Regions from separate parts of the Homo sapiens genome. Here region 2 is linked to region 1. Evidence: promoter capture Hi-C in 16 types of primary human blood cells and fetal thymus (Javierre and others, 2016). All regions are on one chromosome and are shown on one strand. Each heading gives the region's core, a stretch centred on a gene start or on the middle of the fragment in contact. The rest is flanking DNA. Distances are from core to core; before and after follow the strand shown. Region 1 holds the start of H4C3 (H4 clustered histone 3). Region 2 has its middle 14 kb from the start of TRP-CGG2-1.

Region 1 (6,377 bases), core at 2,471-4,970:
ACGGGTTTTTCTTTGTGTAAGTTTGGGTTCACAATTTCATCATTAAAACAAATGTAAAATACTTTGTGCTTTCTGTGTGCTATTAAGAAAGTATTCAAGGGAATTTTGAAAATCAAATTTAATTACTCTCATGTTTGTAAAATTTTTGAAACAAATGTTTAAGAGAGGATAATGTTAGAAATTATCTTTCCAGCCAGACCTGGTGGCTCACGCCAGTAATCCTAGCATTTTGGGAGGACAAGGTGGGCAGATCACTTAAGCCCAGGAATTCAAGACCAGCCTGGACAACACAGGGAAAGCCCATCTCTACAAAATATACAAAATTAGTGGCCGAGCGTGGTGGCTCACGCCTGTAATCCCAGCACTTTGGGAGGCCGAGGCGGGCAGATCACCTGAGGTCAGGAGTTCCAGACCAGCCTCAACATGGAGAAACCCCGTCTCTACTAAAAATACAAAATTAGCTGGGCGTGGTGATGCATGCCTGTAATCCCAGCTACTCGGGAGGCTGAGGCAGGAGAATTGCTTGAACCTGGGAGGTAGAGGTTGCGGTGAGCCGAGATCCCGCCATTGCACTCCAGCCTGGGCAACAAGAGCGAAACTCCATCTCAAAAAACAAAACAAACAAATAAACAAAATTAGTCAGGTGTGGTTGTGCACACCTGTAGTCCCAGCTACTTGGGAGGCTGAGGTGGGAGGATCACTTGAGCCCGGGGAAGTGTAGGCTACCATGAGCCATCATGGTGCCACTGTACTCCAGTCTAGGAAAAAAATAAACATTAAAAATTTTAAAATCTTAAAAAAAGAAAAGAAATTTTCTGTCCAGATATCTTTATTTTTAACAAATCGAAGTGTATTAATAGTGTTTATGGGAGCGTGCCCACACAAGGACAGCAAGCCTAGGAAGTGCAAGTCAAGAAAACTTTTTGTGAAATAATTTAAACTGAAAAGAAAAAGCAGAGATTTTTTTCTAGAAAAGTAAGGAGTGGAGGTAAAAAAAAAACACAGCAGAGACACAGGTATGCTACGGAACCAAAGGTGTGCCAATGGTACTGACAGTTTAATTCAGAAAAAAATGAATCAGAAAATGGATATTTTTAAATAAGTTAGGTTGCTGAAAAAGAGAAATGCAGTGAAGCCTTAGATGGGAGTGAGATAAATCAGCCATTGGCTAGAGGAGTTTCTTGCCCAAGACCAGTGGTGATGTCCCCAAATGCCTGGAAACAACTGTTGTGACATTATAAAGCCCCCATAGTCTAAGTTGGGTGAGACTATACTTATGCATTTTCTCACCTGTAATATAGCTTAAAAGTATTTCTACTCTGGGATTTCTTTACATTTTACTAAAGCGCAATTATATACTTAAAACTGATAGTGTATGCTGGGCTGCTAGTCATTCTCAACCCTGGCCAATTATCAGAATTGTTTGTTGAATATATAGGTGCCATATATAGGTGCATACACACACACACACACACACATACACACACACACACACACACACACACCATATTTCATTCCTCATATCGAATATTCTGAGAGAGTTAGTTTGTGGAGGGTAGTTCTGGACAATTTATATTTTCATAACACCTCTGGTTATTTTTTTTTAAGTAGAGATGAAGACTTGCTATGTTGCCCAAAATGGTCTTGAACTCCTGAGCTCAAGCGATTCTCCCAACTCAGCCTCCTGAAGTGCTGGGATTACAGCCGTGAGCCACTGCATTAACCTCTGATTAATATCATAGATTAACCTCTGATTAATATCATAGATTTATTTGTTTGAATGCTTCATGTATCCTCTCAACCACAACTTGTTTGCAGAGTTTTAATCTGAAGGGCTTAGGTCTCTTGTTCAATGAATGAGTTTGATCTGATGGGTGAGAGGAAGGTGAAATGGAAAGCGAACGAGAAGCCATACAGATTAGGCGAGTGAGCCTAATCTCTCCCTAACCATAAGATTGAGTATGCCTGAATTCTTCGCAGAGTGGAAGAATCCATTTTAAATATATATATCTACATGTACAGATCCTTTAAATATTTGTTCTGACATTCATTGTTTTTGAGTCACTGTCATTGAGAAAAGTTTAGAAAGGAGATATTAGGAGCAGGAAATAGAAAGTAAATAAAATATCAAAATAAAAATGGGGTTTTATAAATGATATAATAGGCAAAATAAAGGAAAGGCATCCTAGACCTCTGGTTAAAATGAAGATGGCACTTGGCGAGATGTGTTCCAGGGTAGTTCACATGATGTATGTTTTCAGAGAATTGTCATATTGCATATGCTGCTATATTTTTTATTTTCATGAATTAAAAGGCATGTTGAGATTTCAGAGTTTTACTTATGATCTCAGACTCTGCATTTTTTCTCTGTAATGTTTGACATTTCTTCCTAGCTAAGTCTCTAGTTATAAGGTCTGTGTTGTGGCATGTGGACAGTGAGTGGAAGAACCTAAGAACTCAATTTGGGGCAGAAGAATGTAATCAATTATTTCAGAAGTGATACAAACAATATGACATGTAGAGCATTCTGGCCTTTCCTGGGTCTTTTTTCTCCATTCCTGGATTTCTTCTCTTCATGTGAGCAAGTCTGAGGTTACTATATAATGTCTCTCACAGGCCACAGCCCCATTCTAAATATTCCCAATAGAAATTCATTTATTAACCAGAGAGTGGTGGGTGGGGTTGTTTTTGTTTTTTAAACAAAAGTGGATCTTATGGGCATTCTGGAAAGCTCCCGCAGGAAGCTAAGAATAAAATTTTGAATTGAGAAGTCCCTTTCTTCAAACCACATTCAGACCCAATTCTGCTATTCTATTTATTTTTCAAGGGGATTAGCCTTATTTTAACACCAATAATCTTATCACAAAAACCTCCCAGAGGAAGACCCTGTAGATTTTGTAATGACCTTAATCAAGTATTAGCCCTACACTTCAATTAATCCCCAACTGTACAAAACGAATGTTCTTTTCTCTAAAGCTGTAGCAAGTTGAAAGGGGATTAAAAACGGAGGGAAGGGAAGAGTGTTTGGAATTTCAGGCACAGCAAACAGGCACAGCAGACCAGGAAGAGCGTCCCGGGAAAACATATTATCCAGACTTAAGTTTATATTCCCTGTCTCTCTCAGACTTTTGCAGAAAAATGAGTCATTCAACAAATATTTGAATCGAGATAGGGAAAGTGACGAGGAAGAAGTTTGCACTTATGAGGTTTTAATTTGCAATTATTTGGCTACCTTTTTGCCTTCCCAAAACATAGGGTCTTTAGGAGTGAAACTTCATAGCCAAACTTATACCTTGTCCAGCACAGAGAAGGCCATCAAAATGCCTGGTTTAAATAAAAATATTAAAATGATTGGGAGGGTAAATCCCTTGACCTATAAATCTGACCTCCTTTAAACATTATTTGTATGTTCCCCAATAAACTATTCCGTAATTTATTAGTTAGCAAGTGGAAATAAAAAGAAATGTGGAATGGGGCTATGCTTAGCGTCATTAAGCTGACAGGAATACAGCGCATTCAACTTGCAAACACCCTTCCACTCCCACAAAGAGCAAGCTGTCACTGGCCAATCAAAACAATGAACCATAATGAAACAGTTTTTCTTGCTCCACCCACTTGGTGACCAAATTTGAAAAAAAAAAAAAACCGCGCCAACTCATGTTGTTTTCAATCAGGTCCGCCAAGTTTGTATTTAAGGAACTGTTTCAGTTCATACCTTCCACTGCGATAGGAATCATGTCTGGTCGCGGCAAAGGCGGAAAAGGCTTGGGGAAGGGTGGTGCTAAGCGCCATCGTAAGGTGCTCCGGGATAACATCCAGGGCATTACAAAACCGGCTATTCGCCGTTTGGCTCGGCGCGGTGGCGTCAAGCGCATTTCCGGTCTTATCTATGAGGAGACTCGAGGTGTGCTTAAGGTTTTCTTAGAGAACGTTATTCGAGACGCCGTCACCTATACGGAGCACGCCAAGCGCAAAACTGTCACAGCCATGGATGTAGTATATGCCCTAAAACGTCAGGGGCGCACTCTGTATGGCTTCGGCGGCTGAATCTAAGAATACGCGGTCTCCTGAGAACTTCAAAAAACAAAAACAAAAAAACCCAAAGGCCCTTTTCAGGGCCGCTCACAAAGTCGTTTAAAGAGCTGAAATGCGTTGCGAGAATGAGTTTGGATGACAGAAATAACCGTGACATCCTGCATAAGAATGAATTGTGTTTGCCATGACCGGCCACACTGTGACAAAATTTCAAAGCATAAAGTAGGCATAGAGAGGTAAGCGCTAATAAAGTGATTGGCTCCACAAAAAGCATTTTGCTGGGCGCAGTGGCTCACGACTGTAATCCCAGCACTTTGGGAGGCCAAAGCTAGTGTATCACTTGAGATCAAGAATCCGAGACCAGCCTGGCCAAAATGGTGAAACCCCCTCTACCAAAAAAAATACAAAACTTAGCCGGGCGTGGTGGTCTGCACCTGTAGGCCCAGCTAGCCCGGAAGCAGAGATTGCAGTGAGCCGAGATCGCGCCACTCCCCTCCAGCCTGGGAGACAGAGAGAGACTCCTCAAAAAAAAAAAAAAAAAAAAAAAAAAAAATTATGTATTTTAGAGCATTCTAAGAATGGTACTTTGGACTTAACCGAAGGGCTGGAGGCGCGTGTTGAACAAAGGTTATCACCTTTTGGCTCATGCGGCACACAGCTATGTAAATAAAGCATCTTTAGGGACAAGCTCTCATTTGCGGAGGGTTCTATGGCTGTTGTCCTATTGGCCAAAACAAAGTGGTCTAAGTCCGGGCGCGGTGGCTCACGCCTGTATTCCCAGCAGTTTGGTAGGCCAAGGTGGGTGGATCACGAGGTCTGGCGTTCAAGACCAGCCTGGCCAAGATGGTGAAACCCCGTCTACTAAAAATACAAAAATTAGCCGGGCGTGGTGGCGGGCACCTGTAATCCCAGCTACGTGGGAGGCTGAGCCAGAGAACTGCTTGAACCCAGGAGGCAGAGGTTGCAGTGAACCGAGATTGTGCCACTGCACTCTAGCCTGGGTGACAGAGCGAGGCTCCATCCAAAACAAAACAAAACAAAAAAGTGGTCTAATAATCCCCAGAACTGGAGGAAGAACCATAACTTATTGATTTTGTTTTTAACCTTATGTATGCCAGGCATGCTAGCCTTGTATACATACAAGGCTAGAGGAGCAAAGGTGCAGGAAGCCATCTTGAGGGAGTCCCATATTATTGAGAGACCGGCCAGCTGCTGGGAGAGGCTAGTTGTTCATCCTCACTGTATGTGATGAGAATCTGGTGACAGTCCATTGCTGGGCACAGCATTTAGGCAAAATGGCTCTCTGCTATGTCAGGCAAGTGAGGCATATTTTTGCACAATCCTAGTAATTCCGAACTCATTGGGAAACAATGGCAATTACATCCAAGCAAGGAAAGGTCTGTGGTTGATTTTATCTATACAAATTTAAAACATAATGTTTACAACCTTTCATTATAGGACACAATTTTTAAAAAGATGCCAAACTATACAAATAAGTTCAGAAAAGTGAGGTACTATTGAACCGTCTGGAAAACATAAATGTATGTGAAATAATGCAATGCATAGTTTTGCAGGGGACTTTGTTCAAAGTTTCTCGAAATACCATGGTCCAAAGTAGACTAACATTAGCATTGGTTATTTATGATGATCAGTAAGAATACTAAATCAAAAATCAAAGGAAAATTAAACTATGTCTGTTTAAAGAGAAACGTAGTTTACCTCAGACTGAGAGTTAAAACAAGTTTGTGATTCAGGAAGGTGGAATTCAGAACCTAATTGGGCAGCCTCCAACATTTCCATTAAGGTTTGGATTCTTAAAATTTTTCAGTCTTCGGTATGCTCTGGTAGTCTGATGAAACTTACAGATTCTTTTCATAAATAAGATACTTAAAGTAATTCATAGGGTTACAATTGTATTAGACCAATAATATTAAAATAATTATCAAACCACTTGACCGTAATATGTGTGTTTTTGTTGATATACCTAATAGTACTTCGGAAATAAGCAAGCACGATTTCCAGATTCTTGCAACAACTATAACCTACAAATTTGTTATTTCTATCAGTCACACACAATGGAAGAAAATTCTAAATTTCAGCTACAGGATAATGAATAGATGAAAAACAACAACAACAACAACAACAAAAAAACTCCCCTAATCCATATTCTGGGACACCTTGATTCCTATTTATTGATCCCTTGAAGTCAGTGGATAGCATATTAAGAAACAATAGTTACAATGACACCACAGAAAGACTAGAATGTAGTACTTGTGTTAAAAAAAAAAAAAGTATCAGCAAGTTATGTTTGGATGCCAAATTGCTCTCCACTTCCCTTCCCT
Region 2 (6,298 bases), core at 3,383-5,882, 970 kb after region 1:
AGCTCACATCGTAAAAGAAAAAAAGCAGCATTGTCATTTTTCTCACTAGGAAAACATACACAGATTAAAGAAGGCTGAAAGTTTACAGGAAACATTGTTTTTCTACCAAGATCATGGAATAACTGTAAAACTCCCTAATAGCCTCCTCTTTGAAAGGTTTCTGCTTTCATTCCAATGATGCCCCAGGCCTGCCTTGCTATATCCATTTATTACAGGGGAGACCCGACTACTAAAGCACCCTCAACTCATTACTGCACTAAATCTTTAGTTAATCCTTCTACTTTCTAGTCCTGTCCTAGAAACATCAACCAAACCAGAACCAAGGTTGAAGAATACCTGCTTCTCCTTGTCTCTCTTCAGAATCTTTCAGCAGTAACTCAAACCTTATAAAATGTACTTCTCTCTTCTCTTCTGTAGAGCTACCGTTTCAAGATTCCTCTCAAACATCTTCCTTCCATTACCTGACTCATTAATCTGATTTTGTCAGATTACAGGTTTGTTTCTAGTGGTTTAGTGGCTCCTGGTTAAAGCTGCTTAGGCTGCAACCTGTTATTATACCAGCACTGATATACTTGGAATTTTTTCTAACATCTCTTTGGTTTGTATTTTTCCCACATTTGAGTTTATTACTTTTTTATTATCTTTTTTCTTTACTGTCTTTTTAATTGGATTTTTTATTTTGCTAATTTTTCCCCTTATTGCTCTACTCATGTGAATAATTTTTCTTCTACTAATCTATATATTTATCTATTCTTTGTGTGCTTACTATCAAAATTTTATTATTAATAGTTAACTTTACAAAGTGTAAAGTTAATCTACTTTATAACATATTCCAAGCATTAACATATGTTTACACACACATATTTTGAGACAGGATCTTTCTCTGTCACCCAGGCTGGAGTGCAGTGGTGCTATCAGGATTCACTGCAACCTTGACCTCCTTGACTTAAATGATCCTAATTTTTTTTAGGCTAGTTTTAGACCACCTGGCTAATTAAAAAAAACTGGTAGAGACAAGATCTCACCATGTTGCCCAGGCTGATCTCAAACTCCTGGGCTTAAGTGATCCTCCTGCCTCAGCTTCCCAAAGTCCTGCTATTGTAGCCATCATTCCCAGCTACAATATTTTTAAATAGCTTAAATCTAATTACTGTCATCTGTTAAACTATTCTTATCTGTTATTTTAGTTCTGGCTTTTTTCAACCCCCAAAACTCGACATCATTATTATTATTATTATTATTATTATTATTATTATTATTATTATTATTTTATACAGGCAATATTTGCTTAGGCTTATATGTTTCCCGATTTTTTTTTTTCATTTTTTTCTTACAGCTTATCCCTTCTAGGGTTATGTTTTTGTTGTTCAAGTACAAACTTAAAGATTCTATAGTAAAGTTTCTTAGTGGCAATATTGCTCTGCTTTCCCTCACCCTTAAACTGTATTTTATCCTCATTATTGAAAGACAAATTTACTACGATGGTTTGAGTGTATCCTCCAAAAGTTCACATGTTGGAACCTTAATTCCCTAAAGTGGAAGGATTGGGAAATAGGGCCTGGTGGAAGGTATTTGGGTTATCTCTGCCCTCATGAAGAGATTCATGCAGTTCTGGCTAACTGGGTTAGTTCTCATGAGAGTGAGTTGTTATAAAACCAGTCAGCCTGCTTCTTTTTCCCTCTTTCATCCACATTCTCTTGTCGTGTTGCTTTTTCACCATGTCGTGATGCAGAACAAAAACCCTTGCCAGAAGCCAGTCCCATGACCTTGGACTTCCCAGCCTCCAGAATAAACTTCTTTTCTTTACAAATTACCCGGTCTAAGGTATTCTGTTATAGCAACAGAAAATGAACCAAGACATTTCTTTGTATAAACTTTTGAGTTGACATGTTTCTCTCAACAGTTTGAAGATACACTTTTTCTCAGATTGGACTTTCACTTTGTGGTTTCAAAAACCTATGGCAATCTGAATGTTATTTCTTCAGCAATCTTTTTTTCTCTTTCCTGTTGCTTTAAAAATCTTCCTTTAGTCTTTAGTATTGTTAATTGCACTACAGTGTGTCCGGTGAGATCACTTTCTATTTGATCTGCTTGGAATATGTTGTGCTTTCTGTGTATGTGAAGTCATATCTTTCCTTTGTTTGGAGAAATTATCAGCCATTATCTTTGTAAATATTGCCTCTTCCTATCCTGCAAGTTCTAAGTGTTTTAAAAATGTTTTCCATTGTTTTCACATCTGTGCTACTTTCTAGATAATACCTTCCATTTTATCTCTTTTTTTAATTTTCTGGACTATTTTTAGAGTTCTACATTTACAAAAAAATTGATCAGAAAGTACGAGAGTTCCCATATACGTCCTTATAGTGTGATATATTTGCAACAGTTGATGAGACAATATTGATGCATTTTTATTAACTAAAGTTCATAGTTACATTAGTGTTCACTTTTTGTGTTGTACATTATAAAGGTCTTGACAAATATACAATGATCATTACAGGATCATACTGAATAGTTTTATAACCCTAGAAGTCCTCTGTGTTCTACCTGTTCATCCTTCTCTTCTTCCTGCCATCCTAGATCCTGGCAACCACTGATCTTTCCACTATCCTTATAGTTTAGCATTTTCCAAAATGTCATATAGTTGGAATCATATAGTATGCAGCCTTTTCAGACTAGCTTCTTTCACTTAACAATATGCATTTAAGTTTCCCCGTGTTTTCTGTGTCTTCATGCCTCATTTCCTTTTATTGATGAATAGTATTCCACTGTATGGATATACCACCGTTTGTTTATCCATTCACCTGAAACGATATTGGAAACCCATGAACAGCCAACAGGCTTTACGAATGTCTATAGTCTACCACACCTGTTTCTTGTTTTAAAAAATTGAAATAGGCCGGGCATGGTGGCTCACGCCTCTAATCCCAGCACTTTGGGAGGCTGAGGAGGGTGGATCACCTGAGGCCAGGAGTTCAAGACCAACCCGACCAACATGGAGAAACCCCATTTCTACTAAAAATACAAAATTAGCAGGGCATGTTGGCTCATGCCTGTAATTCCAGCTATTCAGGAGGCTGAGGCAGTAGAATCGCTTGAACCTGGGAAGTGGAGCTTGCGGTGAGCCGAGATTGCACCATTGCACTCCAGCCTGGGCAACGAGAGTGAAACTCCATCTCAAAAAAAAAAACGAAAAAAAAATTGAAATAATTTAAAAAGTTTTAGTAGTCCCTAACTCTACTATCTTTTCTTTCTCCTCAGTCATATTCACTCTCTCCCCAATTCGGTTTTCTAATTTTACTACTTTTCTCCCCCATTCAGAGTTTTCTAGTATTACTACTTATGGAAATATTAAAAATAATAAATAGTGTTGTTTTACAGGATTTAATGTATTCAATGAATGGTATCTTACTAAGCAATTCACATTTTTGGCCAAATATTTTTTCTTGAAATTATTAACATAACATTTGTCATGGTTGTTGATGTTTTAATCATAATTACCCCAGGGTTTATTTCTTAAAAGCAGAATATTCTTTTACGTGGCTACAGTGCAATGATTAAAATCAGGAAATTAATATTAATACAATGGTACTATTCACTTGATAGAACATGTTTAGATTCAACAATTGTCCCAGTGATACAATTTATGGTAAAAGATAATCCAAGGTCACATGGTACATTAATATGCAGTTGTCATCTCTCTGTAGCTTCCTTCATCCAGTAAAAGTTCCTGAGTCTTTCTTTGTATTTTATGATGTTGTTGTCATAAAAGCTTGAGACATTTCTACAATGTGCTTCAATTTGAGTTTTTCTGATTTTTCCTTGTAATTAGATTCAGGGTGACCCCTTTGGCAGGAATACGGTAGAATTTATTATGAGTTCTCAGCGCATGATGTCAAGGCTCACGTGCTGTTGGTGTGTTTCATCCCAGGCAGTGTTAGCTGCCATCACTTGGTGTCTACTGGTATCTATTTGGTGTTCAGTGTAATGTTACTGTTTTACTCTTTGTCATTAGTAAATCTTTGGGGAAGACACTTTGAGGCAATATTGATATCCTGCTCACCTAAACTTCCACCTATTAGTTTTAGCACCCATTGATGATTCCTTCCTGAAGAAATTATTATTATGATAGTCATCGAGTGGTGATATTCTAATTTCATTATTTCTTTTACATTTACTAGTTGCTTTTTCATTGAAAGTTAGGTCTTTTCCTTCTCCCTCATTTATTCATTTTAATTGTGGACTAATGGATTCTTGTAGTATCCAATAGGTAACAATCATTTAAAATCATTATTCAGTTTGATTCTCAAATTTTCTCAAATTTGGCTGGAGGGAGTCCCTTCAAGCTGGCTCCCTATTTGACAGATTCTCACCATTCTTTGAGCTCATTCTTACTTTTTGACACAACAAGATTCTCTAGGCTCATCTTGCATCTTGTTTTCAATGTCATTTTACATAAGAAAAAGTATAGCAATGGAGAGGCCAAGTAATTCATCAAATATTGCCCATCCAATGTAACCCAGCCAGAAATCATTAAAGTTCACATGTAAACCCCGAAACTGTTGAGACAGCCGAGTAAAAAGGGCTCCCCAGAGAACCTCCGACCCACCTGTGCACTGGGAAAAGGGGGTGGAGCCACGAAGTTAGCGTGGTTTGCAGAGGGGAGGAGCCCAGCCTCTTGTGTTCCTGTGTGGTGGGGCAGGAGCAGGTTAACAGGCCTCCCTCTCACTCTGCTGAAAGTATTTCTTTTTCCTTTTTCGCGCAATAAATTCCATTTTTCTCACCCTTCTATGCATCCTCAAGCCTAATCTTTCCTGGTTATGTGACAAGAACCCGGTTTTTAGCTGAACTAAGGAGAAAGTCCTACAACACTGCCACCATGTGGCAATTACTCCAAATAGAAGGAGAGGCTGAAGGACACACAACCAGGATGCAGAGAAAAAGATGGAGACAGAGTCTGTGCAAGATGGGATTGATACTGAGACTGGGTTAGCCACCTCTCCTAGACAGTGAAACAGATCGCAAGAGAGGCTGACCCAGAAAGACACATGCAAAACAATGGGCAATAGAACACATGACCTGAATTAGATTATCTGGGTTCAAATCCTGATTTTGCTATTCATTATCTGTGTATCACTGGGCAATTTACTCAATCTCTCTGTGCCTGAATATCCTCATTCAAAATCAGGGATGAAAAGAGTACTTATCTCAAAGGGCTATTTGCTCACTTATTGCACAAGTAATTTGGCATCTGATATGAACCAGGTGCACCTCTAGATGAGGATACTGTCACATTGAATGAAGACCAGTGACCAGAAGCCTGCCTCACAGCCCAGCTCAGTGAGAAAAATAATTCCATTCTCACCTCTAATCTCAACCCTGTGTCACCATTTATGTATAGTCCTTTGCATTAGTGTCTGGAAAGGTCATTTTTTGAGGGCAGAATGAATAACCTATAGAAGGATCATTCTTGGGTATAATGAATTAAAGAAGTATTATGAAGCTTTATAAGGCAGGATTAGCTCATAAAAATGGAGGGTTCTTTTGCTTTTCCAGTCCCATTTGTTGTTTCACAGACAAAGAATAAAACAATCACTGATGGCAAAGACTGCAAACTGCCAACGTTCATCGGTAGAGCAAGGTGACGCTCGTCCTGTCCAGGCCTGTGGTTGGGATAAGCTCAGAAAGCAGAGTCTCCAGGGCTGGTCATCATCTATCATAACCCTGCGTATAAAGAAAGCCTTGAGAAAGAAAAGAAGTGACTTATTATGTGTCTTCTGACCTGGTTCTCATTTTTATTCAAAACATTAGAACCTTGGGAAGATGAAGAGAGGGCCAGAAAAATGGGAAACCCTGGATACAGAAACTTGGCTAGCTGTTTACTTTTTCACTGTACATCTTTCTATTGCAATAGTTAAACCCCAATTAAGACTGAAATAACTCCTGAGGCAAACAAACGTAATTGTGGAGACAGAGGGGAAAATGTACTTCAGGGACTAGGATCCTGCAGAGGGTTTCCGTCTTCCTGACAGAAAAACAACTTTGAAAATTTGAGTCCTGGTAATAGTTTGTTAACCAAGAACTCTACAAATCCAGAAGGCACAAACATGGCTTGGGGAGCCTTACCTTGCCAGAAGGACTAACCCAGAGCTTTACTACACCATAGCTACCAAGGTGAGTAGACCTGACAATTCTTTTATTTATTCACATATGCCATATAATATTTCCCTCAGAAGTATGCATCTTGCTTTGTTCTTTGACTAAGCAAGGGAGTTTATGTGAGCCAGAGGACCTTGACTCT

The links. Contacts are between HindIII fragments. The CHiCAGO score rates a contact against its expected background, and 5 or more counts as called.
Region 2: a fragment that was not itself captured here is called in contact with the fragment with the promoter of H4C3 in region 1 in 1 of 17 cell types (total B cells); the score reaches 5.3 in total B cells.

Annotation. Positions count from the first base shown.
Region 1 is chr6:26,100,213-26,106,589 of GRCh38, forward strand. H4C3 (H4 clustered histone 3) reads left to right here and starts at 3,721. Exons shown (of 1, transcript NM_003542.4): 1 at 3,721-4,125. The coding sequence starts at 3,736. The coding sequence ends at 4,047. RefSeq lists enhancers at 3,259-3,368, 3,393-4,083. The HindIII fragment of the contact is 10,429 bases long and covers 1-6,377 here.
Region 2 is chr6:27,074,199-27,080,496 of GRCh38, forward strand. No RefSeq gene overlaps it. Among named protein-coding and RNA genes, the nearest start is that of TRP-CGG2-1, 14 kb to the right of the region's middle. RefSeq lists a silencer at 4,558-4,637. The HindIII fragment of the contact is 1,731 bases long and covers 3,768-5,498 here.